Linked DNA regions of Homo sapiens: region 1 is linked to region 2. Evidence: promoter capture Hi-C in 16 types of primary human blood cells and fetal thymus (Javierre and others, 2016). All regions are on one chromosome and are shown on one strand. Each heading gives the region's core, a stretch centred on a gene start or on the middle of the fragment in contact. The rest is flanking DNA. Distances are from core to core; before and after follow the strand shown. Region 1 overlaps USP16 (ubiquitin specific peptidase 16). Region 2 holds the start of BACH1-IT2 (BACH1 intronic transcript 2).

The links. The method cuts DNA at HindIII sites, captures the fragments that hold promoters and counts their contacts. A CHiCAGO score of 5 or more calls a contact.
Region 1: a contact is called between a fragment that was not itself captured here and the fragment with the promoter of BACH1-IT2 in region 2, in 4 of 17 cell types (neutrophils, total B cells, monocytes and 1 more). The highest score is 21.9, in neutrophils.

The regions. Positions count from the first base shown.
Region 1 is chr21:29,049,629-29,053,621 of GRCh38, forward strand. USP16 (ubiquitin specific peptidase 16) reads left to right here. Exons shown (of 18, transcript NM_006447.3): 16 at 464-550. Among named protein-coding and RNA genes, the nearest start is that of CCT8, 22 kb to the right of the region's middle. The HindIII fragment of the contact is 5,164 bases long and covers 1-3,993 here.
Region 2 is chr21:29,371,113-29,375,512 of GRCh38, forward strand. BACH1-IT2 (BACH1 intronic transcript 2) reads left to right here and starts at 1,389. Exons shown (of 2, transcript NR_046564.2): 1 at 1,389-1,451; 2 at 2,130-2,868. The HindIII fragment of the contact is 7,280 bases long and covers 1-4,400 here.

The DNA of each region.
Region 1 (3,993 bases), core at 1,119-3,618, 320 kb before region 2:
GGCTCACTGAAGGTTTGACCTCCCAGTCTCAAGCGATCCTCCCACCTTAGCCTCTATAGTAGCTGGGACTATAGGTGGCTACCACCATGTCCAGCTAATTTTTTAATTTTTTTGTAGAGACAGAGTCTCACAGTGTTGCCCAGGCTGATCTCGAACTCCTGGGCTCAAGTGATCCTCCTGCCTCAGCTTCCCAAAGTGCTGAGATTACAGGCATGTGCCATCGTGTCCAGCTGGGAATAGCTTTCTTAATGTGTTGGTGTGTGTTTTTTGTGTGATACATGTGTACTTAGCAAAAGCAAACCAACTTGGAATCAGTTAGTGTTCAGGAAGAATTGAGTCTCCAAAGAAAATTGAACTAGGACTTAATGTTGATATTCTTTTGGACGTCGGAGGGGACTTCGGTTTACTTAACCTGTATTGCTTTTCCAAGAAAAGAAGTCAATCTGTTATGCTTCTCTTTTAGGCTGGTTTTAACCTACGCAAAGTTAACAAACACATAAAGTTTCCGGAAATCTTAGATTTGGCTCCTTTTTGCACCCTTAAATGTAAGGTAAGTCAAAGTGGTCTTTTTCAGGAAAGTCCTTTAAAGTCAAATTGTGGCTTACCTAATGCTCCAGTAGCAACTCACTTAAGTATGAAGTTGATAACACTTATTGAGTAGAGTGGGTCTTTGATCATTGTACCTTTATAATTTGAAGATTAGTGATGAATCATTTTGAAGAATGGGTTATTTCAGTTCAACGTTTGGAATCCCCTTTATTATGGCATACATTGTCTTGTGAGCGGAGGGCATAAAACTAAAGGTGAGCAGATCTATTAATGAATAATCTGTTTAATGTGGTTGAATGTTAAGGCTGGTGAACATAGGTCAGGAGTGGTATACACTTAACCCAGCATGTTGGTGGTTCAGGAATGGCTTTGTAAAGTAAACCATGCCTCAACTATATTTAAAGAAGGAGTAAAAGTATGATGAATCAAGATGAAATGAGTTTTGCAGGCAGAAGGAACAGCAGGAGTAAAAACAGCAGTGTAAAATAGGATGGTGATTGCCAGAGACTGGTAACGTATGTAGTTCTAGAGTTTATAGTACAAGGTTATAGGGAGAGTTGAGAAATGAAGCCAGAGAAGTGAGATAGGAATGAAGTTTTGGAGGGTTCTCATGGTGAGGAACTTGGACTTCATTAGGTATACAGTGGGGAGCCCTGAGGAGTTTAAAGCACTGGGGTGGCATGGTCAGATCTTCATATGACGTAGGTTACTTGTTGATGTATGAAGGCTGAATTTTAGGACGGAAAGACTAGAGGTGGGGAAGTGAGTTTGGAGGCTGTTGTATTAATTCAGCCAGTAGTTGATGAGGGCTTAAAGTTGGGCAGGAGATGGGGAGATAGAAGGAATATTTCAGGAGGTAGAATTAACCAGACTTAATGATTGATTGGCACTGTAAGGTGAGGCAGAGGCCTTTTATAAGTGGATGCTGAGGGTGGCAGAGAAAGGGTTGAGGATGATTCCTGAGGCCTGGCACGACAGATGGGAGTGCTGTAAATTGAGATAGGATATATAGGGAGAAAAGCAGGTTGAGAAAAGCAGGTAGAGAAAGGATAATGACTTCAGTTTTAGATACATTTGAGTGTCAGATACCTTTGAGAAATTAATGTGCTTAGTCTAGAAAACATTTGGATATACATATCTGAGACCTATAGCAGAGAGGTTAGGATGGGCCCAGGGCACAGATTTAGAAATCAGTACATATGTGGCAGTTTAAACTATGAGAAGATGGGATCCCTTGTGTATAGAGTCTGAAGAGAGAAAAAGGAGATGGCCAATGACAGGACCCTCCTAAGTATCTGAGTGGAAGAGGCAGGGGTAGAAAGTGAGGACACCACAAAGGATCTCAAAGAATCTCCATGTTGAAGAATTTGGGGCTGGGCGTGGTGGCTTACGCCTGTAATGCCAACACTTTGGGAGGCCGAGGCGGGTGGATCACTTGAGGTGAGGAGTTCGAGACCAGCCTGGCCAGCATGGTGAAACCCTGTCTCTACTGAAAATACAAAAATTAGCCAGGCATGGTGGTGTGCGCCTGTAATCCCAGCTACTCGGGAGGCTGAGGCAGGAGAATTGCTGGAACCTGGGAGGCAGAGCTGCAGTGAGCCGAGATTGCGTCACTGCACTCCTGCCTAGGTGACAGAGCAAGAAACTCCCTCAAAAAAAAAAAAAAGTCTGGGCCAGTTGCTGTGATGGGCATAATGGAAGAGGCCGCTAAGGACAATTTATAAGATTATGGTCACATTGAGGACTATGACAAGGTACATGATCATTTATTATACTTTTGTTTCTTGGCAGTAGTGGCCATCTGGGTTTGGGGCATGGCAGGTACATTATAGGATTCAGGGTGAGGTTTTGTGATGAATTGGATATGGAGGAGATTATTTGTAAGTGATACATGTGATTGAAGTTCCCAAACTTTAATGTGTATGTGGGAATCAGACCTACAAATTTTGATTCTGTAGGTCTAGTATGGGATCAAAAATTCTGCATGTTTAATGTAAACTCTCAGGTGATGCTGATGCTGGCTGTTCATGGACCACATTTTGAATAGCAATGGTCTAGACTGCATATGGGAATTATATTATGTCAGTTTCCATGCTGCTGATAAAGATATACTGGACAAGATATACTGGGCAAGACTGGGCAATTTACAAAAGAAAGAGGTTTACAGTTCCACATGGCTGGGGAGGCCTCACAGTCATGGCGGAAGGCAAGGAGGAGCACGTCACATCTTACATGGATGGCAGCGGGCAAAGCAAGAGCTTGTGGAGGGAAACTCCCCCTTAAGAAACCATCAGCTCTCATGAGGCTTATTCACTATCAAGAATAAGGATGGGAAAGACCTGCTCCCATGATTCAGTTGCGTCCCAACGGGTACCCTCCCATGACATGTGGGAATTGTGGGAGCTACAACTCAAGATGAGATTTGGGTAGGGACACAGCCAAACCATATCAGGAATGAAGCCAAAAGTCTTCATAGGTGAGGAGAATATGAGCATTGGAGATCCTGTTAGGTTAAAGAGTACAGAATAGGTGAGATGAGAGTTGAATAAATAGAAGACTTGTGGACTAAGACTAAAAATAAGATTTATGTCCCTTCAGCTCAGGAGTTTGAGACCAGCCCAGGCAACATGCTGAAACCCCATCTCTACAAAAAATTAATTTAGCAGGTCATGGTGGTGTGCACCTGTAGTCCCAGCTATTCCAGAGGCTGAGGCGGGAGGATCACTTGAGCCCAGGAGGCAGAGGTTGCATTGAGCTGAGATCATGCCACTGCACTCCAGCCTGGGTGACGGAGTGAGACCCTGTCTCAAAAAAAATTTTATGAAGTTGAACAATTCTGAGTGATGACAAGCCCAGACTCTAGTCCTGGGTGTGGTTGACTAAAATGGAATGGCATTTAAAGTCCTGTGAGAATCATAGATGGACGGAGAAGTACTAAGTTCTTCAGTGAATATGGAGGCACAGATTGGGAAGCTGAGTATAGGAGACAGTACTACTGAAGGGCCGTGATGCCTGTTACGGACTTTTACATGAGAACATAAATAGTTGTCTGAAAAGTGGCTCCTGGCCCAGAGAATGCCTGTTCCTGTTGCCAGCCCTATGGCATATAGAGTCCTGAAAGAATAAGCAGCGTGCACTCTCTCGTGGGGAAAGTGAACACTTGAGAGGTTGAATGTGCTTCTCACCAACTCCCTTGGGGACATTTAAAGATGTAAGGGGTAATTTTTGGCACAACCTAAAATACTGTTCTCTTCCTGTTCAGGGCTTACCTTTTTTTAAACAGGGTATTCAGAGTTGTTAATAGCTAGGGTTGTTAAGAATTATCCTCAGGCTCCTAAAGAAACTGGCAAGTTGAATTCAGTTATTTGGTATCTGAGCCAGGTAACTGCATCAAGTGGCCTGTGGCTTACAGCTTTTCTACCAGGGGAACAATGGTGAATTTAT
Region 2 (4,400 bases), core at 139-2,638:
GGATGGGCAGCCTGCAGCTTCACTCGGTGGGCAGCCTCCACAGGTACTTTAATTCCTCGCTCTTCTGGCCAGGCATCTCTTGGTAAAGGCAGGTAGAGGAAGCAAAGCAATTACCTAGATAATTAAGGAAAAACAAACCTGTATGTGGCAGGTAACTTGGGGAGCTGCTTCTGATTTTCTAGGCAACTATTTTCATTCTTCACTTCTCTGGTGTCAGCAGGAATCTGAGCTAGATCCCAAGAGCAACTCGAACAATTACAATGCTCTCAGTTGGCAAACCCGGCTTCATAGCAACTTCCCTCCTCATTGATCTAGAGTTTGAAATAGCTTTGTCAGATCTCGGGTGTGTTCCTGCTGATTTATGGCAAAATCCCAGTAACAGCTGTGAAAATGTTTGTCCATTTGTGAAACTTCAGAAAGCGGGTCTAGCAAATCATTCTCACCTGGTGATTCTGGGGCAAGGTGAGAACTGTACCCTCACAGGCCGGGTGAATAAGATTCTAGTTGCGGTGGAGGCCAAGGAAGAAGATGTACTATGAGTCAATCTCTCTATGAGGCATTTGCTGAACCTTCCCCTCCTACACCTTCCTACAAGGCAGGTCCGATGACTTTTACTTTACAGATGAGAAGATGGAGCCTCCACAAGGCACATAGCTGGTGAGTGACAAAACCAGAATTCAAACCCAGATCCATTTGATAGTGACATTTGTTTCCACTACCCTAGTGGCTCTGGGGGAAGCCAGGACACCCATATTTTTGTAAAGTCCCGTAGTTGTTTCTAGTGTCATCCGGGTTGGAAACTGTATATTAAGTCAGTGGTTCTCAAACTTTAGCATGCATTAGTATCCCCTGTTAGGCTTGTAAAAACACAGATTGCAGGCCCCACACTTAGATTTCTGACTTGGTAGGTAGGTCTGAGTTGGGAACCAGGAACTTGCCTTTCTAACAAGTTCCCAAGTGATGTTGATGCGGGGGCCTGGGCACTACACTATGGGAACCACCACCGCATTAAGGTGAACTCAGAGCTGAATCTGACATGAAAATCTGCATTAATGGAGATGACATCAGATATCTGCAAAGTCACTTAATAGAGAACGGTTGAGACTAAGTCTTGACTAATATTAAAACTAACACATCTAAAAAGACTATGTCCATCACAGGTGGGTGGTCAGAATAGAAACATTACATAATGGGAAAGAAAATGTAGCTGATGCTATTCATCTAGAAGGAAGAAGTGATGTAAGGGTCAGTTTCCACCTTTGCTTTGAATTCCTTGGACAGCAAGCAACCATATGAGCATTAATTTGATTTATGTTTTTCAGGTATCGTATCTGATTTCAGATACATATGATGGTCTCAAGTGTGTTTTTTACCACCACCACTTTGTAGGCCTGTTGATGCCACTGCTGTTGAAGTCTATGTGAATGGTGCCCCCTGGTGGAAGGAAAAAGGTAGTTTATTACAGTCCGTTGTAAATGAGTGACCTAGCGTTGTTATCATGCTCTGCTCCTAGAGACCACTCCACTCACCTTAAACTAGCGAGCCTGAGGACCGGTCCCGGGGACCCATGAGAACATGATCTCCGAGAGCCCTGCCCTTGAGAAAGGTTCTCCTCAGCAATACTCCAACTCACCCCAGACCTAAAATTTTTTTTTTTTTTTTTGGAGACAGAGTCTTGCTCTGTCGCCAGGCTGGAGTGCAGTGGCATGATCTTGGCTCACTGCAACCTTTGCCTCCTGGGTTCAAGCAATTCCCTTGTCTCAGCCTCCCGAGTAGCTGGGACTACAAGCGCACACCACCTCGCCTGGCTCATTTTTTGTATTTTAGTAGAGACGGGGGTTTCACCATGTTGGCCAGGATGGTTTCGATCTCCTGACCTTGTGATCTGCCAGCCTTAGCCTCCCAAAGTGCTGGGATTACAGGCGTGAGCCACCATGCACGGCCCTAAAATTCTTAAAACGTGAAAATGGGGGAAGATGGTTAACACATCCATATGCTATCATGATATATATCTTTCTTCTTAGTTGTATGGGATGAAATGATGCCAAGATTTTCCTTACAGAGTAGGGATTGTGACTGAAGCCTTTGGACAGGTATTTAGGCCCTTATGAGTGTCCCCTCTTGTCTAGAGAATGGGACGCCAGGAATGTCAGATGCTTTTCAGCCTCTCCCCTGCTCTCACGCCTAGAAACAAGAGCTCCACAAAGGTCTCTCATTCCTCAAGGCTGATGAAAAGCCCAGCAGCTAAATGGCCAGAAGCCTGTCTTTGTGAGAAAGCAAGAAGTCTCTCGGTTTGAACTCTTCGGTCTAGAGACAGATTCTTCTACCAGTGGTGTAAAACCCTAAAGAGGCTCTGCATAAGACCTACCACTGCTCTGTGTCTCATGACACCCTGCCCCCACCACTGGAAGGCCACACTTATTCTTTGTGTTCATGCTTCTCTATGATCTGCAAGTTTCCCAAGAACACCTGGATTCGAAGCTCAAGTCCACCGCTAAATAGCTATGTGACCTAATGTGTCAGATGGTTATAAGGATTACAGAGAAAGAGGTATAGATAGAGCTGGTAGCAGTGACAGACACATCTTTACATCATATAATTCTGACATGCATTATTATTGTAGTTTTCTGTTATTCAGACATACTTGTTAAGAAGGTGCTGGGGACAATTTGTACATGCTGGGTATGAAAGGGCTTGGAAAGTATTTCATGAATGGAGTTGGCATTGAGGAGTCCAATCCATGTACAATGGGTAGAATTAGAAAGGCATTGAGGATAGTGTATTAGTCTGTTTTCAAACTGCTGATAAAAACATACCTGAGAGTGGGTAATTTATAAAGAAAGAAGAGGTTTAATGGACTCACAGTTCCATGAGGCTGGGGAGGCTTCACAATCATGGCAGAAGGTGAAAGGCACATCTTACATGGCAGCAGGCAAGAGAGAATGAGAGCCAAGGAAAGGGGGAAACCCCTTACGAAACTGTCAGATCTTGTGAGACTTATTCACTACCTTGAGAACAGTATGGGGGAAACCGATTCAATTTTCTTTCACCGGGTCCCTCCCACAACACATGGGAATTATGGGAGCTACAATTCAAGATGAGATTTGGGTGGGGACACAGCCAAACCATATCAGGTGGTTACATAAGAGATCCAGTAGAGAGGTGGGAACTCCAGAGGAGATAACTCACCTGGAAAGTAGGCAATCAGGAATATAGGATCCCAGTATGATGAAAAAAAAGGGGCTGTGGGTATGGGAGGCATATCTCAGAGAGAAGAAACACTGCTGTTCATGCCTGTGAAACCCAAGGTTTCCCCTTCCTCTTAAGGGTTCTCTCCCTCTAATGAGAGTTGTTTACACTGCTGATTAGAGACTATTAAGGTCTAGAAATCAATTTGTGTGGGGTTGTGGCCAGCATTTAAAAAACAGAACAGAATATGAAATATCAATGTGCATTGCACATAGTGAGTAAATATTACTTTATGAAACTTTAATCAATTACACATGTACATGTTTATAGGGGTATGATGTAAAGTGTATCATTCCTATGGGTCTTGGTACAAGGAGTTGAGAGCTGCGTCTCTAGTGAATCTACTGGGGTGGGGAGTTTTCTCATGTCTGCTCTTACAAGGTCCTCTTGACTATTTACTTTCCAGGATGGTTTTTCCCCATCAGCCTTTTCTGAGGGTCTGAGTCAGTTTGGGCTGCTATAACAAAGTACCATAGATTGTGTGGCTTAGAAATTACAGAAATTTATTTCTCATAGTTCCAAGATTAGGATGTGAGCATGGTCGGATGCTGATGAGGACCCTCTTCCGGGTCACAGCCTGCCGTCTTCTTGTATCCTCAGAAAGAGAGAAGAGCCGGGCACGGTGGCTCACACCCGTAATCCCAGCACTTTGGGAGGCTGAGGCGGGTGGATCACTTGAGGTCAGGAGTTCAAGACCAGTCTAGCCAACTTGGTTAAACCCCGTCTCTACTAAAAAATACAAAAAATTTGCTGGGCCTGGTGGTGTATGCCTGTAATCCCAATTACTTGGGAGGCTGAGGCAGGAGAATTGTTTGAACCCGGGAGGTGGAGGTTGTGGTGAGCCAAGATCATGCCACTGTACTCCAGCCTGGGCAACAGAGTGAGACTTCATCTCAACAAAAGAGAGAAAGAAAGGAAGGAAGGATGGAAGGAAGGAAGGAAGGAGAGAACTCTTTGGGGACTCCTTTATAAGGTCACTAATTACAACATAAGGGATCCACCTTCATGACCCAATCACCTATCAAGGCTCCTCCTCCAAATACCATTGCATTGGAGGTTAGAATTTCAACATATGATTTCTGGAGGGACATAAACATTTAGTCCATAACACTGAGTTAAAGCAGGTACCTATTCACTCTCCTTCTAGTCGG